Linked DNA regions of Homo sapiens: all the other regions are linked to region 5. Evidence: promoter capture Hi-C in 16 types of primary human blood cells and fetal thymus (Javierre and others, 2016). All regions are on one chromosome and are shown on one strand. Each heading gives the region's core, a stretch centred on a gene start or on the middle of the fragment in contact. The rest is flanking DNA. Distances are from core to core; before and after follow the strand shown. Region 1 overlaps ST6GALNAC3 (ST6 N-acetylgalactosaminide alpha-2,6-sialyltransferase 3). Region 2 overlaps ACADM (acyl-CoA dehydrogenase medium chain). Region 3 holds the start of LOC124904200. Region 4 overlaps ST6GALNAC3 (ST6 N-acetylgalactosaminide alpha-2,6-sialyltransferase 3). Region 5 holds the start of ZZZ3 (zinc finger ZZ-type containing 3). Region 6 overlaps LOC124904200. Region 7 overlaps ST6GALNAC3 (ST6 N-acetylgalactosaminide alpha-2,6-sialyltransferase 3).

Region 1 (3,748 bases), core at 524-3,023, 1.6 Mb before region 5:
TACCATTGAATAAAGAATCAACTCAAGGACCAGTCTCTTTATTATTATTATTTTTTTTTGAGACAGAGTCTCACTCTGTTGCCCAGGCTGGAGTGCAGTGGCGTGATCTTGGTTCGCTGCAACCTCTGCCTCCTGGATTCAAGCAATTCTCGTGCCTCAGCCTCCCAAATAGCTGGGACTACAGCTATGCACCCCTATGCCTGGCTAATTTTTTGTATTTTTAGTAGAGACGGGGTTTCACCATGTTGGCCAGGCTGGTATTGAACTCCTGGCCTCAAGTGATCTGTGTGCCTTGGCCTCCCAAAGTGCTGGGATTACAGGCATGAGCCATCGTGCCTGGCCTAGGACCAGTCTCTTTTCATTAAGCAGCTCTGATGTCTTCTTGGGCCCCAGAGCCCTTGTCAGATTCTCTGTTTTCAGCAGCTCCAGGAGACAGATTACAGGGAAGATCTCGTGGGGTTGTTTAAAAAGTCTCTCAAATTTGATAGACAGGAAAACTCTTTGCTTTAATTTGTATTTATTTGATCATTAGTGAAGTTAAGCTTTTAAATTTGTATTAGTCATTTGTCTTTCTTCTTTTATAAATTATAGATACTTTAAAATTTTATGCAAGAAAATCTATCCATATTTTCTTTTATGATTTCTACCCTTGGTCAGCAGGTACATTTTCAGCACAGTGTCTTGTACACTTTCATTTTTAAAAAATATAGGTGAATTGTATTAACTTTTATATTGGAAGTGGACATTGAGTGGACATGTAGACACAAGATCCTTGAGAATCATTTCTGCCTTCGAGAAGATTATGGTTTTGCCAGGTTGATGAGGCTTATGAACATGAAGCAGTTAGCTGATACGATAGATGCATGACTAAGCCACAATTACCTTCTCTCCAGTGACCTGTCCTCATATATTTATCTTGATTGATAGGTAATTAGATGAATGATGATACCAAGTTAGGAACTTGGCGTCTTCTCATTTCCTCTTCCTCCCCCTGCCCCAGATCTAATCCTTCTCCACAGTGCATCAGTTCTGTCTCAGGAAAACCTCTCAACTCTGCCCCTTACTTTCCATCCTTACTCCCCCTGCCTTGTTCAACTCCCACTTTAGAGTCACATCTGTGGTCAGGCCATCCCCTGCCTCAGCAGGCTTCCTCTGTGCTCCTGTGGTCTTAGTTCTTGTCCCTGTAGTAGCAGGTATTACCATGTACTGTCAATAAACTGCTTTCATGCCCAGCTCTTCTTTGACTATCAAATGTTAGGGAGCCGCGGCCTTCCAGTGTTTACTGAGCATCTGTAATTGAGTTCTGTTCTTACCCTAAGTGAGATTATAGACTCAGTGAGAAGGCAAATAATTAAACTAGTAATTAAAAGTATGCGAGGAGTTTGAAAATTACACCTCATGGTATGGGAGTATATGGGTGGGGTGTTGACGGTTACTGAACTGAATGTAAAAGGCAGAAAAGGCTTTGTTTTATTCAACTTGGTATTTCTAAGAACTAGCTTGGCTCTCAGTAGGTGATCCTTAAGTGTTTGCTGAATGTATCAGTGGTGTTATTAATTTTTTTTTATGTCAGTTATAGACACAGGTCCAACCTGTCTTCTGAAAACAGCTGAGCATTTCAAGGATGTGGCATGGATTTTTTACTCTAATGTATAGCAGGCAGATTAGAGCTTGTTGATTAGTTTGCTCCTTAAATTTTTTCTTAGTATGTTTCTTGTAGGTAGGTCTGTTACCATTCCTCATATAAAATCTGGGGCCAATTTAAGATCTGGGGTTGGGGGGATGGGGAGATGAGAGAACTGGACTAGAAGGAGGGAAAAAGAGAAGTGTAGGCGTGGTTTAACTTTTGTCATGATCATTTTGGTTCCCCAGATTAACAGAAACAGATAAACCAAAAAAAAAAAAAAACAATCAAAAACCAAACACCCACAACCAAATGATTGTGTGGTTCTCAAACGATGAGGTCTCAAAGCATTTGAAAACAGTATGGCTTCACTGAGACTGGAAAGCCACAGGGACTTCACAGGTACACAGATGATAAATCTGAAACCGTAGGATAACCCTGGCAAGTAGACAAGTCACTTCATTTAATAAATCTGCTATGACATTTCTTATTGCTGCCCAGGAAATGCTGAATTCTCAGCAGCTGCCTGGCCTAATTTCCAGTCTTACAGTGACTGAGCAGATGCTTTTGCTACGTATATCAGCACATTGTGGGGAATGAGTGGCTTGGGTAAAAGTAGTGCTCTTTGGATGGATTGATAACAACAGCAACAATAGGTGCCATTTATTGAACAGCCAGAGTGCTCAGGCTGGCTTCTGTGCTAAGTAAACTTTTATTACAAATGAAGACACTGAAGTTCAGAAAACCTAAGTAAATTGTCCGATGTCCTGTGGTCAGTAAGTGATGGAGGTGGGGTTCACCCTGACTTCGTGTGGTTGTAAAGCAGGGGTGTTCAAACTTTTGGCTTCCTTGGGCCACATTGGAAGAAGAATTGTCTGGGCCACACATAAAATACACTAACACGAATGACAGCTGGTGAGCTAAAAAAAAAAAAAAAAAAAAGCAAATCGCAAAAGAAATCTCATAATGTTTTAAGAATGTTTACAAATTTGTGTTGGGCCACATTCAAAGCTGTCCTGCGCTGCGGGTTGGACAAGCTATAGAGCTTGTCTTTTACCTTCAGTGCCAATTTAGTAAATATTTATAGGGATTCTGAATTTATTTCACCATCTTCTACCCCAGACAATATCCAGTCTAGACAACTTCCTAATCTGGTGGCCTGATGGGGACCACTTTTAGCTGTGTCGTTTTTATTTGTTCCTTTAAGTTTCCTTTGTGACAGAAGAACTAGAGGAACTAGAGGGGCTGCAAAGACTGAGGAGATAAGAAGGCTTTAATTCTGTTTAATTCTGAATAGATCTTTGACCCTGGGCAAGTTATGTGAACCTATGTGTCCTTTTTGGGGGTGGGAGTGAGGGAGAGTTGGATTTACCCTGAACGCAAGCTTCAGGGCCCTTCCAAGGTTCTGGGAAGAGACACTAGCATTTTGGTATTTATAATTTTATATTCATTTTATCAAGGAATCCCACAAATCGTATACATTTCAGGCTCCCCAACATAGATCTGTCCCTTGGGTGGTGTTGGAGAACCAAAGAGATAATGCTTGTGAATGCACTTTGCAAAGCAGAGTGCACTGCATAGGCATGAAGTGGAAATGGCAAAAAACGTTATTAGTATTATTAGTACTGATAATAGCTGGAATCGAGGAAACCTTTGTTGAAGGACTAGTGGGAGAAAGAAGGGGTTTAGGTCTGAGGAAAACAGGGAAGCCTATTAAGCTTTCTAGTAAACGACTGAGCGAAGTTATGAAAGCTTCTCCCCAGGAGAAAAATTTCTGTTTGTAAGAATTTAACACACACTTATGCCTGAGGGCTGGGAGTTGAATGAGGTTCTTTTCTGTTTCCTGGCTTTAGGGAACAGTGGAGGAAGGCATTTTTCTAATTGGAGGGAGTAGATTTACAAGTGCTACCTGGATCCCATTACCAAAAGCTGCAGTTAGCTCCTGGTTATTAAAAGGCTCATTATTCAGTTTATGGATTATCCAGACCCCATTTGCCTCCAGCCATTCTGATGTACACGTTTTATGCCTTTTACTGCCAATTAGCGCCTTCACCTGAGCAGAGAAAAAAGGGGGTGCTAAACCCCAAATTTGTTAATTTCTCTCCTTGTTAGCAGCTCTGTAAA
Region 2 (3,666 bases), core at 1,027-3,526, 1.9 Mb before region 5:
ATTAAAGTTCTTTTTATTGCAGTTTGGAAAGCATTTGTGAAACTTTCTGTTTGGCACAGAAACAGTCAAAATTTTGACATTCATATTCTCCTATTTTACAGCTACAAGAACTTTCTTGAAAATCTTATTTAATTCTGAGCCCATATTTCACTTACCTTATTTAAAATAAATCAATAAAGCTTGCCTTAAATTATTTTTATATGACTGTTGGTCTCTAGGTAGCCTTTGGTCTATTGTACACAATCTCATTTCATATGTTTGCATTTTGGCAAAGAACTTAATAAAATTGTTCAGTGCTTATTATCATATCTTTCTGTATTTTTTCCAGGAAATTTCATTACTTCGTGTAATAGTGTATATTTCTTGTATTTACTATGATGAAAAAAGGTCGTTTTAATTTTGAATTGAATAAAGTTACCTGTTCATTTTTTATTAGATATTTTAAAGACTTCAGAAAATATAAATATGAAATAATTTAAGAACCCAAATCTCTGAATTTAATATTTCTTTGTAATTCTAAATATCGAATACTGCTAAACTGTGTTATACTAAATGGAGTGCTTTCTGACATCACATCTCATTCTCTAGTTCTTTGACATCAACTGTGTCCTACATTTTAATTCTGTTCTGACACTATGCAGCAGAGTTAGGGTCAACCCCATAAGGCTGCCCTCACTTCAGAGGCCAGTCACAAGTCCTGACTCCCCAAGCTACCCATACTCTGTCCAACATGGCTACAAATTCAGGTATTCCCATGACCCTGCCCTCAGGGTCGATAATTTGCCAGAATAGCTCACAGAACTCAGGAAAACACTTAACTTACATTTACCTGTTTATATCAGAAAGGGTACAACTAGGAACAATTAATGAAGAGGTGCATAGGGAAAGGTATGGAGGGAGAAGGGAGGTGCAGAGCTTCCATGCCTTCTTCCAGCATATTACCTTCCCTGCATGTCTCTGTATTCCTCAACGTGGAAGCTCCCCAGCTCAAATTCAATAGTTTCCATGGAGCTCAATCTCCAGTCCTCCACTCCTCCCCAGAGGACCAAGGTGAAAGCTGGAAGCTCCCAACTGTATTAGTCTCCTAGGGCTGTCATAAAAAATACACTGGAGACTTGGTAGCTTAAATAAATTTATTTTCTCACAGTTCTGGAAGCTAGAATTTCAAGATCAAGGTGCCATTTGGGTTGTTTCTAGTGAGGCCTCTCTTCCTGCCTTATAGACTGCCACCTTCTGTGTCCTTACATGTCCTCTTCTCTGTGCATCATGAAGGGTTGGGTTAGGGGGAGCTCTTGTGTCTTTTTCTCCTCTTCTAAGGACACTAGCCCTGTGAGATTAGAGTCCTATCCTCATGACCTTAATTAACTCCCTAAAAGATCCTATCTTCAAGTACAGTCACATTGGGAGTTAAGGCTTCAACATAGGAATTTTGGAGGGACACAACTCAGTCCATAACATCACCCTCTAATTACTTAGTCCTTCTGGTGACCAGATTCCTCCTGAGATTATCTAGGGGCCCCACCCTAAGTCATCTCATGCCAAATTCAGGTATGATTGAAAAGGTTTATAAGGAATAACAGAAGATAACTCCAAGAACTCAAGAAATTCCAAGGGTTTTAGGAGCTCTGTGCCAGGAACAAAGACCTGGGAACAAAGACCAAATAAATTTCTTATACCACATTAAATTACCAAAATAATCGAATTTCTTACAAATATAAAATATTTAAATGACATTTCCTTCATGCTCAATGATGAAATTTTATTTAAATGATACAACTTGAGATTGGTAAGGAGATTTAGAGAATTCTTAATTGGGTATTATGTAGAAATGAGAAGTTAAATAGAATGTATATATTTCAAATGCAAATTTGAATTTGCAGTACAGAGGCCCAACCATTTCTAAACATAAAGCTTCTAGACATGGGCTGGGCATGGTGGCTCGTGCCTATAATCCCAACACTTTGGGAGGTTCTGAGGTGGGAGGATCACTGAGGGCAGGAATTTGAGGCTTCAGTGAACTGTGATGGCACCATTTATACTCCATCCTGGGTGACAGAGTGAGACCCTAAAAAGAAAAAAAAGGTCCAGGCAAGGTGGCTCATGCCTGTAATCCCAGCACTTTGGGATGCCGAGGCGGGCAGATCACAAGGTCAGGAGTTTGAGACCAGCCTGGCCAACATAATGAAACCCGGTCTCTACTAAAAATACAAAAAATTAGCCGGGCGTGGTGGTGAGCACCTGTAATTCGAGCTACTTAGGAGGTGAGGCAGGAGAAACGCTTGAACCCGGGAGGCCGAGGTTGCAGTGAGCTGAGATTATGCCATTGCACTCCAGCCTGGGCAACAGGAGCGAAACTCCATCAAAAAAAAGGAAAGAGAGAAGGGAGGAAGGAAGGGAGGGAGGGAGGAAGGAAGGGAGGGAAAAGAAAAGGTTTCTATACCAGATATAAATGTACTCCAAAAGAAGGGAGGGAGGGAGGGAGGAAGGAAGGAAGGAAAGAGAAAAGAAAAGGTTTCTATACAAGATATAAATGTACTCCAAAGCCTTATGATGAGAATATTATAGAATCCTTGCTAATAAATATTAAGCACTTATGTAATTTTGCATCAGTTAAGCCTTTTTAGTCACAAGTAAATGAATTTAAGCTTCTTTAAGCAAATATGTATTTTAAGTATGTGGAAATGACTCATAGGTCTGAAAGGGAGGAATGAAGTCAGTCTCAGGAAGGGACTAAAACTAGAATAGTCAGTCCTCAGGAATCCATGAAATATATATAGTCTTTTGCTAACTCTCTACTTCTGTCATTTTATTCATTGTTGCTCTATAGTCTAACTTTCTCTGCTTCTTTGATCCCACAATAGAATCAGACTTCACGGTAGCATATTTATATTTTGGATTGACCACCACATTTATAAGCTTGCTGACTAGGGCCATTACAAGAAGGAGGGTAGGTACAGTCATGGACTACAAACATGACTATTAGTTGCCCCCATCAGTGAATTGATGGTTCCTAGAGAAAGCACAGTTTTACATGTGATCTAGTAGGTTTACCAGAATTTTAATGAATGTTTAAGGAATCTACCAGAGTCATCAATTTGCATAGAGGGAGAAGAATTATTCAGTGACTCCTCTGGATTAAAAAAAAAATGGTTGTTGATATGGCTTCTAGAATTACAGCCATTAATTTGAATATATTATCAAATAGTACAAAGGGTCTTTGGAGATTAAAGATTAAATTCCACAGGCAACAGTGTTTTTTCTTTTCTTAATATGTGAAAGACTGTATTTAACTCATTGGATGAGGGAACTAGTACAAAGTTAAAACTGGTATAAGGGAGAATTTAAAGAGCAGATAGAGGCAGTAATAAATGCTTAAAAGAATTTGCTAGGCTGGGCGTGGTGGCTCACGCCTGTAATTCCAGCACTTTGGGAGGCCAAGGCGGGCAGATCACCTGAGATGGGGAGTTCGAAACCAGCCTGACCAACATGGAGAAACCCTGTCTCTACTAAAAATACAAAATTAGCTAGGCATGGTGGCACATGCCTGCAATCCCAGCTACTCGGGAGGCTGAGGCAGGAGAATCACTTGAACCTGGGAGGCAGAGGTTGCAGTGAGCTGAGATCGTGCCATTGCACTCCAGCCTGGGCAACAAGAGTGAAACTCTG
Region 3 (3,376 bases), core at 690-3,189, 1.6 Mb before region 5:
TCTACATAGAGTCTAATCAAGTTGTCCAGTTGATATGCTGAGATCCCTGGAAAAAACCAGGAATCTTCAGAAAAGCATTAGTTACCTCTAGAAGTGCTATTTCTTCCACTTTCTTTCTCATGTTACCAAATAGTTTCGCATTAGCTCTAAAGGAGGTAATCTACTTACTCTATCAGGTCCCTTATCTGTATTATCTGTGGCAAAATAATTCTGCTGACTTTGCTCTGAATAATTACCAAGAGCTCACTTAACATGGCTATAATTCTCTCCCCATCTGACTGAGGAATGTTCTTAAACTCCCTCAATCATTCCAGCCCACATTCTTTCAGTATAGCAACAGCGTGTCTGTAACTTTTGTTTCCTTTAATTCAGGATCATCAGAGTGGGTATAAAACAATGACCACCTTTCACAGAATGAACTATACTTACAGTGTTTAATATATATTATCTCATTTGATCCTTAGGACAAAAAGTTATATACATATATGTGTATCTATAAATGTATGTATTTATCGCTTTTTATAGGTAGTATTGAAACCACAGTTCAAGGGCAGTAGCCCAAGATTACTCCACTAGTGAGCAATAAACTTGGGATTTTAAACACAGGCTTTGGTTTCAAAAGTCAATTTTTTTAAGGCTCATAAAATAATTCTTTGGCTTAGCAAAGCCCCTTGCTTATTTATATATACCACTTTAAACATATTAAGTATATTAGTTAGAAACATTTTGAATACTAGTGACAAAAAAAAGTAACTCAAGCTAGTTTAGTAAAAAATGGAAATTTATCAGTTCAGTTGTCTGCAGGAGAAAGCAGGGGTGTGGCTGAGCACAGGCCCATGGAGCTAGGGACTCTTGTTCTCTCAGGCCTCTCTTTCTCTCCCTCTTTTTCTTTCCTTTTCTTTTGCACACCACCTCCCCATTCCCCGCTTTTTTTTTCCAGACAAGCTTCTTTACATAATGAGAAGCAAAACCTTCAGCAACATCTCTAGCTGGTTTGGGTTAGATGCCCATCTCTGGACTCATCAATTGTGGCCAAAACAACGGGGCCCTATCGTGTAAAGCCCCCTTTAGAACCTCCGCATGTCTAGAATCAGGGAGAGACGAGATTCCCCAAAGAGGGAGGTTAACATTCCCAGAAGGAGGGAATTATATGATTTCAACTTATATTCTCATATGGATAGAAATGCATTTACCACACTCCTAATGTAAATCAGAATTTCTGATTTTCTGATGCTCTAACCACATTTCCTAATGCTACATTGCACCCAGCACAATGTCTGGCACCCAGAGATGTTCAACTGCTATTCTTCAAAGTATAAATACATTTCACCCATTTTTACTTTCATTCTACTGCTTCATTAAAAATATTTTGTATTTCCTTACATTCCATCTGGAAGTCTATAACTTAGTACCTGTGTAATAAGGGATTTGGCACTATCACCTCTCTAAAATAACATGTTAAAATGGTAAGCATTCTATGGTTTTCTTGGGGAGACTTTTTTTTTTTTTTTCTTTGAGACGGAGTCTTGCTCTGTCGCTCAGGCTGGAGTGCAGTGGTACAATCTCGGCTCACTGCAACCTCCACTTCCCTGGCTCAAGCAATTCCCCTGCCTCAGCCTCCCGAGTAGCTGGATTACAGGCGCACGTCACCACACCCGGCTAATTTTTTTGTATTTTTAGTAGAGAAGGGGCCTCACCGTGTTGGCCACACATGAACTCCTGACCTCAGGCAATCCACCAGCCTCGGCCTCCCAAAGTGCTGGGATTACAGGCGTGAGCCTCCGCGCCCGGCCAGGGAGACATATTTATATGTAAAAAGCAAATGTATCTTGTCATTGGATGCTCATCCACAAGAGTCACAAACCCCATTCTAACACCAGCTTTGTGGTTTACTAAGTGATATCAATTTCCCAGCGTGGCAGATGACAATGTGTGTATGTAACTTGAATAAAAGCCAGGGCAAAGAGTTGAAACCAGCCTCATTGTCTGGGTATTACTGGAAGTTCTTGTTATCACGGCAGAGGAAATCAAGGATGCGGACACTCCAAAGGTGAGGTTAGAGCAGAAGTTTAATAAGCGAAAGGAAGAAAGCTCTCGGGAGCAGAGAGGGGTCCCAGAAAGATGGGTTGCCATTTTACAATGAAATGCAAGGGTTTTTATAGACAAGCTGGTGGGGAGGGTGTTTCATTTACATAAGGCTCAAATTTCTGACAGTTCCCACCCCACTTTTTCTAGTGCTCATGCGGGCTCCTTAGTCTGAGTTACTCCATGTTGCCTATCTCTTCCCACTGCGCATGTGTGAAAAAGGCCAGGAGGCGGGACCCTCTACAGTGGACGCTCCTGGTCCAGGGTAGCTCGTCTTATCAGTGCTGCTGCAGGCACTCCCTGCTGTGCAAACCTCCTTGTCTGAGTATTTCCAAGAAGGGAGAGGACTGTGCTTACTGGGGCCCACTGTATGTCTGTATGTCACACAGGAGGCCCCTTTCTGTGTTAGAAGCTGCTTTTTTGTTAGAAGGGAATTCTACTTAGGACCCTTGCCCTATCTGCCTAGTTGATTTCTTTCTCTCTCCTCTCACAGAGTGTCACAGAAAGAACTCCAATCCATCAAGCAAAAGTAATTAACAGCAATTCAAATCTTTATTGGACTCTTAGAAAATAAACAAGGAGATCTAATTTGTAGCTCCCACATAGATTTTTGTCTCCACTCCTGTTGTTTTTAATTAATTCAATAATATTTACTAAATGTCTCCTATGTGTCAGACGTGCTTCCAGTGCCCATAGAGCCTGCATGTCTCCACTCCCCGAGTTCCCCTCTCCACTCCTTGGATTCAACTCTCAACTTCAAACTGAGTTTTGAAGTCAGTCAGGAGTGGGGGAGGGCGGTTTTTTTTTTTTTTTTTTTTTTTTTGAGACGGAGTTTTGCTCTTGACACCCAAGCTTGAGTACAATCACGCGATCTTGGCTCACTGCAACCTCCTCCTCCCGGGTTCAAGAAATTCTCCTGCCTCAGCCTCCCAAGTAGCCAGGATTACAGGCGCCTGCCACTACTCCTGGGTTCACTTTTTTTTTTTTTGTAATTTTAGTAAGACGAGGTTTCGCCATGCTGGCCAGGCTGATCTTGAACTCCTGACCTCAGGTGATCCACCCGCCTCTGCCTCCCAAAGTGCTGGGAGTACAGGCGTGAGCCACTGCGCCTGGCCGGGAGGGTGGCTCTTGACTTACAGGGCCTCCCCTCCCCTCCAAGGTCTTCTTTAATTCTGCACATTATTTTAATTATTTCTAACAAGTACCTTGATCTTCATTTGTGAAATCTAGTGACCCAAAGGCAGCTCCCAACCTCCCTGGGAGTTGATAGGGGTGGGGTTGGGAAGAGAGG
Region 4 (3,808 bases), core at 585-3,084, 1.5 Mb before region 5:
CTGTTCTACTGCATTTATTGTGCAAACAGTTGATTGAATGCCTGTTTATGTGCCAAACACTGTGTTAGGGAAGATGAAAGGATAGATGAGACCCATTAAGGTCTGCCCTTTAAAAGCTTGTAATATGTTGGAGAAACCAGACATGAAAACAACTAAGTATAACACAACATAATGTCTGAAAGATAAAAACAAGTGTTTTCAGAACACAATAATTCACAGAATACCTACACATGCCATAAACTGTGCTAAGGGTTTTCCATGGATTAGCTAATTTAATTTCCCCATCAACCCTACAAAGGAATTACTGTGGTTGTTCTCATTTCACAGATGGGGAAACTAAGCACAGAGATGTTAAATCACTTGCTCAATCTTTATAAAGATAGGAATTGTAGAGTTAAGTTCCAGAGCCTGCCCTGTTAATGATGGCACTAAACTGCCTTCCAGAGAAGGTCAGAATGCATAGCTCTTTGTAGGATTGTTGGTGAAACTTGCAGAGAAGGTATTTTCTGAACTGATATTCAAGGATGAGTAGGAATTTATAGGTGGATAGAAAAGGAATTGTATTCCAAGTAGAGGAAGGAATGTGAGTGGACACACAGATGGATGAAAATATATAATGTGTTCAGGGAATGGCTAGTAATCCCAGAGGTCAAGAGTGGCAGGCAGTGGTTGGCTATTACACTTAAAAGGTTAAAGCTAATGCCGTAAGCATTGGGGAGCTCTCAGAGGATTTTAAGAAGGGGAGTCTGTGTCTAGATACACTTCAAAAGGGTTCCTGTAGTAGCAGTGTGAAGGCTGGTTTGGGCATGTGTCAGAATCATTTGAAAGCCAGGAGGGCCTGCTGGAAGGCCTCGCAATAGTCTAGGTGAGATCATGCATCGGCTTTGGGATGTGGCAGTAGAAGTGCTGGCTTCTTGTGGTTTTGGGGGTTGGTGCTTCACAGAGTGAAGAAAGAGGTGTCACAAGGGTCATTAAAATCCCACTGGTGTGCCTGTTGATATAGGAGGCACCCATCTTACTCTCTAACGGTGTTCTACAAACTAGCCAGGCTGTGAACTGTTCATTACTGTTTGGGCCAAAATAAGGGGCTTGCACCAGAATATAAATCAATGCATTGCTTCCATCACGGAGAAAATCTTGGTGCACACACACACACAGTCTACTGAAGCAAAAAGTGTGCTTAGTGACAAAGTTGATTTGGATTCTAGTGCAAGCTCTTATTTCCTTGCAGCCCACAAACAACATGTGGACTTTCACCAGTCCACAACCATAAATAGAGTAATGCTGCTGTATAATCAACATATCTTACTTGCTCTATACTTCAAATATCTTCTTCTCTACAGCTGAATTTTGTAGATGAAAAATTTATTTTAAAGTTTCAACATTTTAAGAGGTTTCTTTTTACTCTACAGGCAAGCCACTTATGTAAAGGACCCATCTTTTAATTTTTGAGTTTTGGAAACTTACATGAGTACTTAACCTTGATTAATAATTGATAACTCTTTCTGTAGAGATGGGCCGGTGACCTCTTGCTACTCTCCAGCATTGTTAAGTGCTATTGCCTTTCAGACTTCAGATTCTTTCCAACCTCTAACACTTGGGCCATTATTCCTTCTCCAAGGTTCTCAGAAGTGATAGAGCACTGGAGAGGCAATGAAATCAATGATTTCTCTATCACTTGAGTGTAAAGTGTAAACTAAATTATCACTTAGCAGCCATGTTATTAAAGGGATTCAAACATTGGTAAAGTGTCTGGACTAACAGACTTTCAAGATTCTTTGCAACCCCGAGGTTTTCGATTTGTCGGAGGTACAGAACTGGTAAGCGGCAGAGAGCGGCAGCACCTAGGTTTCCTGACCCTTGCTGCTTGCTTCCCTGCCGCTCCCCTCAGTCCTTCATCAAGAGCTGCAGAACAAGTTCCACTCTCCCTGGAGGATAGGTGCTGTGGGTCTTCATTTAATGGTGGGACCTCTGGAGATTTTTCTCTCTGCTAATCACCCAAGGATGCTTTACATACTCTACTGAGATCTAAATTTATATTGCAGATGGGCCGATGCTGATGTCTTAAAGTACTTGCTGGGAAGATAATACCCAATCTCTGGAGAAAAGAGCTTTACATTTCTTTTTACTGAGGGCTGTTCTGTAATTTGGCTCTCCTAACTCTGGCTTGCCCCAACAATGAGCTACGTAATTGGCCTTAAAGGGACACCCATTGATTTGGACAGGGTCTGTACATACACCAGTTAAACACAGTGCCTCATGCTGGGTCTGTGTATTTCTACTGGGCTTTCTTTTCTAAATGTTATTTAATTCCAGAGTTTGCATTAGTGCTTCAGTCAAATATTGTCAGGCTTTGGTCAAAAACCCTTAACTGAAGATCAGGGTTGGTCATAAAAAGTTGGAAATCGACATTTGCCAATGCCAATTGGCAGACAGTTGGCACTCAAATTGGGGACAGGGCCAGGCAAAAAAAGGTCTTCAAAAACTGTGCTCCAAAATCCTCTAAAATCCACTGTGGTTGCATCATTGCCCAAACTTACAGCTTAATATGTTGGCTTTGCTGCTTAACAGCTGTGTGAATGGGCATGTTACTTAACCTCTGTATTTCTCCATCATAAGATAGACATAATAAATTTAAACCCATGGGTTATTGTGAGAATAAATAAGATAATCCATGTAAAAGATGCTCAGCCTAGTCCCTGGCATATGGCAGGTACTCAAGAAATGTTTAATTTGAATCTGTTGCATGCGCATTCTCCGTTGTAGCCAGATAAGTCTCTCTGCACCATGAAATGCCATTCTATCCCTGCCTTTATGCTTTTGTTTATGAGCAGAAGGAAAGTATGACCTAATGATTAATAACATGGCCTTTGCTGTCAGGCACACCTGGCTGAAGTTTTGTTTTCTCTGTTGCAGGACGCGGGTGAGTTAATTAGCTATTTTAAGCCCCAGTTTCTTCACCGTATAATGGGGGAATAATGGTACTGACCTTACAGTGTTGTAGTGAGGGTTTAAATGAGATAAAATTTGTGGATGCCTGGTTAAGACAATCATGAGCCAGCTTATTGAGCTCCTATTATGAGTTGGTCCTGGAGGTAGAGTGGTGAGCACACCCAGCTGGGTCTAATGGATGTATAACCATAAACAGTTACAAGCCTTAAAGTAAATATTTACAAATAATTACAAAGGGGCAATGTATGTAAGTGCCAGGTGAGCAGTTAGCAAGGGGGCCCAGCTAGGTCTAGGGGTCACATAAAACTTCTCAGTTACCTTGAATACCATACAGGATGTAGTATTAAAGGTTGACGTGAAGGACAAAGAGGAGGTGACCAGGCCCAGAGCTGGGGAAAGACTGTCCAAGGCAGGGGAATAGCATGTGTGTGGACTCAGAGACCGGAGAGCATGCGCTCTGTTTTGAAGAGCTGAGAAAAGTCCTGCGTGGGTCTTGTAGGTGTTCAATCAATGGCAACTGTCATTATTCTAGATTCCCTCTCAGGGTGCTGAATCCTAAAGCAGCTTGAGTGCCTACCTTAAGTCTTTTTCTCTTTTTAATGAAGCTTCCTTTGACTAACTCAGAACTGATTCCAATCTACTCTAAAACCTTATAGTATTTTAGTCAGTGCTATATAGATCAACACTTAGTTATATGATTTTAAAAGTTGTTCTTGAAGTTTTATGTATCTTTCCTGAGTCATCAAATTGATTGAAAATTCACTGAAGAGCCCTGATTTTGTATTATGAGTCTCCAGAGGGCTTAGCACAATGCTGAGTCCACAGTGATTAACAAATATGTAATGCTTGTTGCAGA
Region 5 (3,472 bases), core at 218-2,717:
ACACAGCAACCACAAAGGCTGGTTACAGAGATTTAAGACTGAGGAATGGAACTTTGTGGTACCGTGAAACAAGCACTGTGTTACTCTATACTATATACCTCTCTGTATTATGTATAGGAAAAAAAAACACTTTTGTAGTTTTAAAAAACAAACTATGAATAAATTAACTAGTCACCTGATTCGTTTTGTAATTAACTCCCCACTCCTTATTTAGTACTGCAACTACTAAATAAAATCCAAATACTACTTAAGAATACGAAAAAACAAAGGTATACTGTAAATTCACTTCTGAGACATTAGGGAATTGGAGAGAAATATTAAATTGATTTCAAACTCATTTAAGAAAAATAAAGCTCAAACTCTGATGCCAAAATTTATGAGTTTGCTCTTTACTAAAAAGTTGACCTGAGGCCGGGCGCGGTGGCTCACGCCTGTACAGTGCTGAAATCCCAGCACTTTGAGAGGCCAAGGCAGGTGGATCACTTGAGGTCAGGAGTTTGAGACCAGCCTGGCCAACATGGTGAAACCCCGTCTCTACTAAAAACACAAAAATTAGCCGGGCGTGGTGAAGCGCGACTGTAATCCCAGCTACTCGATACTCGAGAGGCTGAGGCAGGAGAATCGCTTGAACCCGGGAGGCGGAGGTTGCAATGAGCCGAGATCGCCCCACTACACTCCAGCCTAGGCGACAAGAGCGAGACTCCGTCTCAAAAAAAAAAAAAAAAAAATCACATGAAACAGTCTGTTACCTTAAATATATAACCTAAAACAACCATCCCTAAACTTCAAAGATGGCAACCTCAGTAACACAGTAGTAATTAAAACCCTACCGATAACTGAGTTAATAGGCACGTACAAAATGATGAAAAGCAGGATTTTATTCTGACCACAGGTGTTGTCAGAGACATAATGGGCCCTCCAAATACTGCCAAAAGTTACTGAAAATACGAAGTCAGGGTGATGAGTAAATGACACCCAGAGAAAATAGATGGGAGGAGTTCTGTTTCAGGAGACTGGAGTCAGGTACTGCAGCAGAAAACGCGACACAATAGTTAACCGGTCTGGAATACTTTAGAAAATGGCAAGAAGGGAAAAACTGACAAGAACATCTTAAAGTAAGAGGAACGGTATCCAATGGAATCATCAGGTCTGCGCGAGCACGGCTCCCGGACTTCCAGTGAGTGGGACAGGGTGGAACTATCACTGCGTGGGGAGAAGGACCTGGCTGAGGGGTGCATATGCTTTTGCAGGTGGTGGAGCGCCCGCAGGGGGATGGGGAGGGCAGTGTTGCCTCAATGGGGTTACTGTATTCCCTTCAAGACTATGGGAAGCTGATGCAGCACGTATCCCGGCACCAAGAGGCACTCGCCCCGGGCCCCTCCCTAACGACTTGCCTTGTAGAAAGAGTTGCAGGTCCCAGGCCCCCGGAACCCAAGGCTCCGCCATCCAGGACAACTGCTCTGCCAACGAGGTCCCGCGAGAATCGAGAGATCTCGCGATACAAACCCACTCGCATCTCGCGAGCTTCCACTAGACCCAACATGGCGGTACAGAAAAAAATCAGTATTTCGGAACTTAAAAAGCACTTCACTAACGGAGTAGTGAACATTTAAAACACTGAGACAGTAGGAAGTCTTTCCGCTTTATACGTCTCCTCCTTTCCCCTTGTACAGAAAAGCAGAAATCTTAAAAACCTCCGATTACCACGATTATACTACATAAACAGAGCGCAGTGCGCTGCCCCAGGCAGCCTCCCTGTCACGTGGAAACATTTTCGGCGTGCCCGTCACGTGGGCCGCTACTGAGCGAGCGCGCTCCCGACGCCCTCCCAAAAGCCCTCCCCGCCCCCCCTTTCGCCCGCGCACACGTGCGCGCGCACCCCCGCCCCACGTGGGGGCTTCGCCGTCGCAGCCGTCGCAGCCGTCGCAGTCGTCGCCTCCAGCCCACCCCCTCCCGGTACTTGGCTCCAAATCCGGGTCCCAAGCCGATCGTTTCCCACCCCCATTCCCTCCCCCTTCATTCTCCCTCCCCCGTGTCTGGCCCTCACCACGTGTCCCGAGCTCTTGCTCACCTTTCACGCGGGGTCGGACGCAACGGGCCACTTGGGGAGGCGCCGCCGCCGTGGCCGCTCTCCGCCCCCGCCACGGCACTTGCTCGGGTGGCCACCGCTGCAGGAAGCTCGATAGCGGCGCCGCGGCGCTTCCAGGTGGGTCCCCGCCTCCCGCTCCTGCCACTTCCCGCAGCACCAGCGGCTCCTTCCGGTCCCCTCCTTTCTCCTCGTTGGGACTGGCGGGCGGCGGCGGCGGCGGCGACCGCTGCTGCTGCTGTTGCTGCTGCTGCAGGCGCGCTCACTACACCGCCTGCTGGTAACCGCGGCCCGTGCAGCGCCCGCGGGTCGGGCGCCGCCGAGGCCCTCCCCGGCCAGTCCCTGCCCCTGGGCGAAGTTTGGTCTTCCGAGGGCGGGTTGCAGTCCATCCCTTGCAACCGTCCAACCTGGCCCTAGCAGAGGAAAGGCGTCCTCGTAGCTCCGCCATTGGAAATCGGCTTCATCCTGCCCTTTGTGGCCTCCTGAGAGATTTGTAAACCCCACCTCCCTTAGCACTGTGGTCTCAAGCCAGGAGAACATCCATACATGTATTTATGATCGTGCTTCTGCCTCGCCTCGTTCACCTCTGGCTTGTACCACAGCACGCAGGCTCGAACCACTTCGGGCCTTTGTGCTTGCCGATTTCTCTGGCAGAACATTTCCTCCAGATTTTTTTTAACTCCTCGATGTTCGATGCATATTTCAGGTCCCTTCTCAGAGGGCTGCCCAGACCACTGTATCCAAAAAAAGTACACCTGCACCATTGCTTTAACTCTTCACCTGCTTTTATTTCTTCATAACAGTTACAACTTCCAGACCTTATTTGTCAGTATCCTCACCACCAGAAATGTAAAATTTTTAAAAGCAGGGACTTAGTAAACTGTTTTGCTCATTGCTGTATCCCCAGAATTGTGTCTGGCACAAAGCAGTGCTCAGTAATATCAAAACAGATCTACCAACTATATTGAGCATGTAGGAAAATAAAGCCCAACACACATTAATGAAGATAAATAACTTCATCATTTATGAGCTGTGGAAAAACAGCTAAACCTCCTTCCGTGGCTATAAAGATTATGTTCCAAAAATATAAAATCCAGTGGTAGAAGCCGTTAACTGGGGCTCTTCTTTGACAATTGTCCAGTGCTGTTTCATTACTTTTGTTTTCCTTTGCAACACTATTTTTTTTTTCGGGCAAGTGGATACGTGTTGTGCCTTCTTTTATGTTGCTAATAAAAGTTATTAAATGTTTTAAATGGTGTTTTGTATTTTAGCTTTGAGTTCAACTCAAAGTAACATCTACTTCAAGAAAAAGGGTTACATGTTTTTAACACATCAAGTATTTATTGAACATACTAGTGTTTCTGGGTGGCAGTATGTCAAAAAAAA
Region 6 (3,872 bases), core at 237-2,736, 1.6 Mb before region 5:
AGTGCGATCAAACAGTGTTCTTAAAATGGCTGTACTTTATTGTATATAAAGCATGTTGCAGTAAAGTTAAATAACAAAATTCTGATCGGATGGTTTCTGTCTTTTTTACAACATGGGTTTATTTAGCCTTAATTATTAACAACAGTTGCATACTCAAAGATTTCTAGATTGATAGCTATTTTCCCTCAACATTTAAAATACATTATTCTATTATCTACCTATTATTGCTGAGAAGACTGTCAGTTCCATTGTTACCGTGTCTTATTTTCTTCTCCCCGGAGCTTTGTTTACTTCTTGTTTTGGATGTTGTGCATTTTCAGTAAGATGTGTCTTGTTGTGTATTTGTATTTTTATTTATTTTGCTTAAATTTTGCTATGATTTATTACTAAATATAATGACTTCTTTCTTTAATTGTGGAAAGCTTTCAGACACTCTCTTTGGATATTGGTTCTCCAATCTCTCCATTCCTTCCTTTAGGAATTCCTATTAGATGTATGAATTAGACTCTTATTTTAACCTTTTAGTATCTTAATATCCCTTAGATATTTCATGTTTTTAATATCTCTTTTATTTGTGCTGCACTTGTGCTAAAATAATTTCCCTAGGTCTATCTTACATTTCATTAATTCTTTGTCACCTGTGTTGGGATTTCTATTTCAATGAGTATACTTTTTGTCACTATGATTTCAATTTCATCCTTTTCAAGCATGCCTATGTGTTTTTTAATATTTTCTACCTTTAGCTCTTTGGACATGTTAATCATGTTTATTTCTAAATCTCTTTCATTTTCTTCCATTATTCCAGGTGATGGTGTGCCAGTTCTGCTCTCTGCTGTATCTGTGTCCTGTTTCCTTATGTCGTTTGTAATTTTTGATCACAAGCACATTTTCAACAAGGTTTGTTTACCATGGGACCCCCATGAGGCCTGAACTACAGAAGTGGTTTGGGGTTTGCCTCTGCCAGGTCCCTGGAGGTTTCATTGGCCTTAGATTAATTTTTATGTTAAACTTCTGTGGTAAATTGTGTTTCTGGAGAAGACCACAACAATAGACCCTCTCCCAATAGCTCTTTTGTAATGTGATCTTGCCACTCCTCCATCAAGAGGTGGAGTTTATGATCCCTTCCCCTGATTCTGAGCTGCCTGTGACTGACTTTGATTGACAGAATGTGGCAGAAATGACACTGCATCACTTCCAAGACTGGCCTTATGAGACTCCCAACTTTTGCTTTCACTACTTGGAGAGCTCCCTTTTGGAGGCCAGTCATCGTGTTAGAAGCATAACTAACTGGAGACCACTATGTGGTGGAGAAGCTCATGCTGTCTACATATAGAGGGAAATGGCATATCAATGAATTAAACATGAAAGTGAAGATTTCTTGGCCCTCTCCATCTTACTCAGCTCATTGGAGCCACCAGCTGAAAGCAAGGGAGTGAATGAGCCCAGCCCCGAGTGGAGCAGAAGGAGCCCAACCAGCGAAGCCCAGCCTGAATTCCTGACTAACAGGTGATGAGCAAGTAGTTTGAATCCACCACCTAGCCTTGAGATTCCGATTCTTGCAGTCGATCCTTTTCCACTCATTGTGTAGGCAGTTGGGAACATGTCTTCTCATTTCATTACTCTAGTGGGGGAAACTTTTCAAGTGTTTCACTGGGGCCCTTTCCAGTCAGATTAGTTTACTGCAATGACTAGAAATGCATCTTCACTCATGATGGCCCAGGTTAATTCTTGACCCCTCTGGCACAACTGTCTCTCATCATCATAAAGAAGCATAACATATATAACTATTCCCTCTCTTATGCCACCCCTCTCCTCACAAACATGTAGTGGTTTCCAATTTTCTATGAAATAAAACTCTTGTTTTTCAGTTCCAGATATTTTTATCTAATGAAAGGCCCACATTTCTTATTTATGTATCTATTTATTTATTTATAAGAGATGGGATCTCACTATGTTGCCCATCTGGTCTTGAACTCTTGGCCTCCAGTGATCCTCCCACCTTGGCCTCCTAAAATGTTGGAATTATAGGTGTGAGCCATCGCATCCAACAAAATCCCCACTTTTCTTATCTCACTGGTCTACATATCTGTTTCTCAGTCAACCTGAACTATCTCTTCTTACTCTATGTACCCCACTCCATATCCTGTCTCCATAATTTTACTCTCATTATTCTCTTTGCATGAGATACCCAAAGCTCTGGTGTTCACATGTAGATAGATCTAACCTATCTTTCAAACCCCACTAAATCACCTCCTCCACTATAAAGCCTTTTTTGGTAACCCAAGCTATAATGTCTCCCTCCTTTGAAGCCCAGTAATATTTTTTACCTGTCAATGTCTTATGATTTCTACCTTCTCAGATTTTTAAAGCATAGTGGTTTAGAATAGAAGTTGACAAATTACAGTCCAAATTACTGACCAAATCCAGCCCACTATCTGTTTAGGAGAAATAAAGTTTTATTGGAACACAGTCACGCTCATTCATTAAGATACTGTCTATGGTTACTTTTGCACTACAATGGCAGAGTTGATTCTTCGTAAGGGAGACCAGCAAAGCTTAAAATATTTGTTGTCTGGCCTTTTACAGAAAAAAGATTGCTGATCCTTGATTTAGAGCATGAAAATTGGATTTTGTATTACACCTTAATATATATATATATATATATATATATATTTTATTTTACTGTAAGTTCTGGGATACATGTGCAGAATGTGCGGGTTTGTTACATAGGTATACATGTGCCATGGTGGTTTGCTGCAACTATCAACCCGTCATCCAGGTTTTAAGTTCTGCATGTATGTATTTGTCCTGATGCTCTCCCTCCCCTTGCTTCCCACCCTGCGACAGGCCCCAGTGTGTGATGTTCCCCTCCCTGTGTCCATGTGTTCTCGTTGTTCAACTCCCACTTATGAGTGAGAACATGCAGTGTTTGGTTTTCTGTTCCTGTGTTAGTTTGCTGAGAACGATGGCTTCCAGCTTCATCCGTGTCCCTGCAAAGGACATGAACTCATTGTTTTTTATGGCTGCATAGTATTCCACGGTGTATATGTGCCACATTTTCTTTATCCAGTCTAACATTGATGGGCATTTGGGTTGGTTCCAAGTCTTTGCTATTGTAAATAGTGCTGCAATTAACATATGTGTGCATGTGTCTTTATAGTAGAATGATTTATAATCCTTTGGGTATATACCCAGTAATGTTACCCCTTGATATTTACCAGCTGTATGATTCACAGCTTGCTGTGAAGGCCAAGTGACAGAATATGAATGCACTCTTTTGGAATCTATAAAGTATAAATGTAGAGTGTTACTATTGCTATTACTTTTGCCTAACTCAAAGTGTGTTATGGTTTGCCTCTAACTGAGTAAACAGTTCTTATAAGGAAATGGAAAGAAAGTAGAAACAGGATGGTGTCAGTGAGATACCACCTTATTCCTGCAAGAATAACCATTATCAAAAAATAAAAATAATAATAGATGTTGGCAGGGATGTGATGAAAAGGAAATGCTTTTAGACTGCTGTGGGAACGTAAACTAGTACAACCACGGTGGAAAACAGTGTGGGGATTCCTTAAAGAACTACAAGTAAAACTACCATTTGATCCAGCAATCCCACTACTGGGTATCTACCCAGAGGAAAATAAGTTATTATACAAAAAAGATACTTGCACACGAATGTCTATAGCAGCACAATTTGCAATTGCAAAAATATGGAACCAGCCCAAATGCCCATCAATCAATGAGTGGATAAAGAAATTGTTTTATATATATATATATGCACACACACGCACAAATACACACACCCACATATATATATATATACACACACACACCATAGAATACTACTCAGCCATAAAAAAAAATAATGGCAT
Region 7 (3,739 bases), core at 1,160-3,659, 1.6 Mb before region 5:
ACACCTGGTCAGTTCCCCCATCCTTAGCAGGACTTAAACACAAATCTTTATTTCCTTGGCTCCTCAATATGTCGTTAGGGGAGAAATAGGCCCAGAATGCCAGCTTCTTTTGTCCAGACTTCTTCCTTCCCTTGATCCTGGCCTGACGCTTTTTTTTTTTTTTTTAGATTTGAGGTGTTTTAAAGCATTTAATAAATGCTTTTTCTCTCTTTTACTTATCTTCAATGGGAAGGTGTATTAGTCTGTTTTCACACTACTGATAAAGACATACCTGAGACTGGGCAATTTACAAAAGAAAAAGGTTTATTGGACTTACAGTTCCACAGGGCTGGGGAGGCCTTACAATCGTGGTGGAAGGTGAAAGGCATGCCTCACCTGCGGCAGACAAGAGAAGAGAGCTTGGGCAGGCAAAGTCCCCTTTTTAAAACCATCAGATCTTGTGAGACTTATTCACTATCATGAAAACAACACGGGAAAGACCTACCTCCATGATTCAGTTACCTCCCACTGGGTCCCTCCCACAACACGTGGGAATTCAAGATGAGATTTGGTGGGGAAACAGCCAAATCATATCAAAAGTTTTATCTGGCATATCTAGTGAGTCATTATCAGAAGCAGTAGTCTCTCTGAAGCTTTTCTCATCTATCCACCTTACATTTTTATGATTAAAAATTCCAAAAATTACAGAAGTGGAGGGAATAGTCCAAATATTCCCCCATCACTCAAATGCAACTCTTATCAAGATTTTGTCACAATTTGCATGGAAATATTCACAACCTATAAGAAGAGAAAGTTTTAAAGCAAGGCAATATCTCAACTCACAGCCATCCACTTACCTCTAATGGCCAGCATCAGAGACAAAGACTTCTGCCTTGGTTACTGCTGTCCTGAGCTTCTAGCACAGGTGTGCCCCTAGATGATTTCAGTGAGCTATTGTTAAATGAATGTGAATTCACTGAAGAACCACAGACTGTGGGAGCTGGAGGAAGTCTTGGCTTGTCGTAATGAACCACAGATTACAGATGGAGATGCTGACATCCTGAGATTAGGTCACAGAGGTGCATGGGAGAGTTAGGCCAAGGTCTCAACTCAGGGCTCTCTCCACTTTTCCACACTTCCTCCTCATTTTGCTAGCTCATTTAATTACCACTTTTTCTTCCTTTCTGATAACACTGAAGTTTAAGAGCATTTCATTACAAGTGTGATGATACAATGTGGTATTAAGACATGACAAGGCAAGTTTTATTGGCCATTACTATTTGCCTCAAGTGAGTGGCAAAGCCTTTGACCACTCGAGGCATATATTAATAGCCCTATAAAATACATCCTGGATTGCTAGTGCTATTACCGTCTGGCTATTACATTTAAAAAAATATTGTACAAATACCACTTCAAATAATTTTCTTACTCTTTTTTTTAAACTGGAACGATTAGCTTTTTTTATGAGAGACAATTCTTCACATGATGGAGAAAATAGAATTGTCAGGTAACATGGAAAGAGTATAAGCTTTGGAGTCGTACCAAACTGTGTGCAGGTATTTGCTCTGCTATTTATCATCACTGTGACATTAGGCACTTTTCTTAAACTCTCTGGGTCTATTTTCTTCTCTGTCAAATGACAACAAGAATGCTTGTCTTTTAGAATTCATATGTATATGAAAACACCTGGCATAGGGCCTTGAACATAATGAGTGGTCAATAAATCTTATATTTTTGTTGTTGTTATTATTGTCATGATAATGAAATCCAATGGGAAATTTTTTCTTTTAATTAGTTGATTTATTTGTAAGACTAAAAATGTTGTTGTTATAACAGATCCTTGTCTTGCAGGGCAGTCTTTCTTTGTTTCCTCTCTAGCCCTCATCCCTTGGAAAAATGAGCTGAACCATGTTGGTTGGTGCAAGAGGGGCTGACAGAAGAGAGTTTTGATAAATCCACAAGATAACTTTGGAAACTCTTTGCCATTTTCCCTCCTACTCAATGCTGCTGGGACTTTGAGCTCGCTGAGGCAGTCTAAGGCTGTGCTTTGACTTCAGTGCTGTGCCTTGTGCTTGGGATAATTGTGTTTTCCATTTGATGGCCCCCAATGCTTTGTGTAGGAATTGGATGGTGCACCCATGCTCCTCAAATGCTGAAGCAGTCATGTCACTTGGTGGGGTGAGGTGGATCATCAGCAACAACATACTTTTCTTTTCTTTTTGAATTAAGCACACGGAAAAATCCATAATCTAAACATGAGGGACATTAAGTTTTGGATGGAAGAGAGTGAATTTTGCAACAATAACAACTAAAAACCCAGGACACAGAACAATTATTGAAAACAACTTGCTGAAGTATATAAATAAATAAAAGTGTCATTTCTGAAGTATCTTTCCTTCCCTAGGCTCACTGCCATTGTCATGGGAAAAGTGTGCATGGCAGCATTTACTCTGAGGTAATAACATGGATACATTTCCCGTTGCTCAAGACTTGTACATAGAGTCTGAAGACAAATTCTTCCTATCTTGCTGAGAAATTAACTTCTATTTTTCCATTCCTGTGAGCCAGAAGGGTAATTACCACATGCTGTTCAGTCATGAGTTTATGGAAAGAAACACAGGCTTCATTCAGGGTCTTCACCAACTGGGTGGGGTTGGGTTGGTCATGGAGAGAACTTACATTGTGGGTTTACAGCTGTACTGCAAACATTTCTTCAAGTCTGGAGCAAACTCAGCCCCTCTTTCCTGACTAACTTCTTCCCTGCCTAATCCAATGAAGACAATGGTTGATGAGAATAATAGCAGTTATTGCATATTAAGTATTAATCAGACATGTTATTCTTTAAACACACTTTTGCTTTTTTTTTTTTTTTTTATAATAATCAGGCATCCAATGAGATCTGTCCTCTTTTTATCCTCATTTCACTGAGAAGGAATGGTGGCTCTGAAGAGTTAAATAACTTGCCTAAGCTCACAATTTTAGAAGGTATGGCCAAGACTCAAACCCAGATTGGTCTGATTGTCAAAGTTGTGTTCTATTCTTAACCAATTTTCTACTTTCTTTGGTACCATGATTATCTCCTTGCCTTATAAATATTCTTGTATGTGGTATTATCTTTGTCTTATTATTCATAGTACACAGGGGCTTTTTTTCTTCCTACTTGCATTTCCAGTTCCTTCCTTATTAATCAGTGTGAGCTTTTTGCGATTGAGCCCTCTTTTCTCTTGCCCCACCCGCCAGCCCACCTCCTGTTCAAATACAGCCCTGCGGGTGAACACTATGGGCGACCCATGTGTGTGGGCTCATAGGAAGATGCAATGTGGAGAAGAATGGAAGCTTCTATGGCAGATCTACATTCTTTTTTCTGTCCTCTCCCTCTCTCTACACCCAATGTACTTTATTTTTTGGCCCATTTTTGCTCCTATATGCCCTTTCATCATCCTCAGAACCTGTACCCTTGGCATTTTGTCGGTAGACATTTATATTTCCTGGCATTGAGGCTATAGATCTCTAATACTTGAATTGATTTTCAAAATTAGGGAAAAGAGCTGCGATTTTAGCTATATATTTGGGCTGTTTGAGTTGAAAATGATGAAGAGTAAAGTAATGTTTGCTGTAAGAGGTGGGAGGCAGGACTGTGACACGGTCAGCTGACTCTTAGATGTGTAATAATGGTCTGGCACCACCAGTCTCTCACTGTCTTCTTGAAATCACCTCTAAAGAAGAGTTTGATCTGGAAGGTCAAGCCTAGCAGTGAACT

The links. Contacts are between HindIII fragments. The CHiCAGO score rates a contact against its expected background, and 5 or more counts as called.
Region 1: a fragment that was not itself captured here is called in contact with the fragment with the promoter of ZZZ3 in region 5 in 2 of 17 cell types (neutrophils and monocytes); the score reaches 6.7 in neutrophils.
Region 2: a fragment that was not itself captured here is called in contact with the fragment with the promoter of ZZZ3 in region 5 in 1 of 17 cell types (naive B cells); the score reaches 5.1 in naive B cells.
Region 3: a contact is called between a fragment that was not itself captured here and the fragment with the promoter of ZZZ3 in region 5, in 1 of 17 cell types (erythroblasts). The highest score is 5.0, in erythroblasts.
Region 4: a fragment that was not itself captured here is called in contact with the fragment with the promoter of ZZZ3 in region 5 in 1 of 17 cell types (total CD4 T cells); the score reaches 5.3 in total CD4 T cells.
Region 6: a contact is called between a fragment that was not itself captured here and the fragment with the promoter of ZZZ3 in region 5, in 1 of 17 cell types (erythroblasts). The highest score is 6.7, in erythroblasts.
Region 7: a contact is called between a fragment that was not itself captured here and the fragment with the promoter of ZZZ3 in region 5, in 1 of 17 cell types (total B cells). The highest score is 6.1, in total B cells.

The regions. Positions count from the first base shown.
Region 1 is chr1:76,078,740-76,082,487 of GRCh38, forward strand. All of the region lies in intron 1 of ST6GALNAC3 (ST6 N-acetylgalactosaminide alpha-2,6-sialyltransferase 3), which reads left to right. Among named protein-coding and RNA genes, the nearest start is that of ST6GALNAC3, 5.9 kb to the left of the region's middle. The HindIII fragment of the contact is 2,466 bases long and covers 541-3,006 here.
Region 2 is chr1:75,763,192-75,766,857 of GRCh38, forward strand. ACADM (acyl-CoA dehydrogenase medium chain) reads left to right here. Exons shown (of 12, transcript NM_000016.6): 12 at 1-488. Among named protein-coding and RNA genes, the nearest start is that of RABGGTB, 21 kb to the right of the region's middle. RefSeq lists an enhancer at 1,176-1,235. The HindIII fragment of the contact is 734 bases long and covers 1,910-2,643 here.
Region 3 is chr1:76,038,204-76,041,579 of GRCh38, forward strand. It overlaps LOC124904200, which reads left to right and starts at 3,161. Exons shown (of 5, transcript XR_007066173.1): 1 at 3,161-3,376. The HindIII fragment of the contact is 1,992 bases long and covers 944-2,935 here.
Region 4 is chr1:76,159,565-76,163,372 of GRCh38, forward strand. The region is part of intron 1 of ST6GALNAC3 (ST6 N-acetylgalactosaminide alpha-2,6-sialyltransferase 3); the gene reads left to right. Among named protein-coding and RNA genes, the nearest start is that of ST6GALNAC3, 87 kb to the left of the region's middle. The HindIII fragment of the contact is 3,441 bases long and covers 115-3,555 here.
Region 5 is chr1:77,681,191-77,684,662 of GRCh38, forward strand. It overlaps ZZZ3 (zinc finger ZZ-type containing 3), which reads right to left and starts at 1,468. Exons shown (of 15, transcript NM_015534.6): 1 at 1,395-1,468. RefSeq lists enhancers at 1,524-1,603, 2,421-3,194, 2,624-2,723 and silencers at 1,984-2,403, 2,414-2,473. The HindIII fragment of the contact is 10,120 bases long and covers 1-3,472 here.
Region 6 is chr1:76,054,708-76,058,579 of GRCh38, forward strand. It overlaps LOC124904200, which reads left to right. Exons shown (of 5, transcript XR_007066173.1): 3 at 806-897; 4 at 1,402-1,506. Among named protein-coding and RNA genes, the nearest start is that of ST6GALNAC3, 18 kb to the right of the region's middle. The HindIII fragment of the contact is 2,133 bases long and covers 421-2,553 here.
Region 7 is chr1:76,104,462-76,108,200 of GRCh38, forward strand. The region is part of intron 1 of ST6GALNAC3 (ST6 N-acetylgalactosaminide alpha-2,6-sialyltransferase 3); the gene reads left to right. Among named protein-coding and RNA genes, the nearest start is that of ST6GALNAC3, 32 kb to the left of the region's middle. The HindIII fragment of the contact is 1,808 bases long and covers 1,506-3,313 here.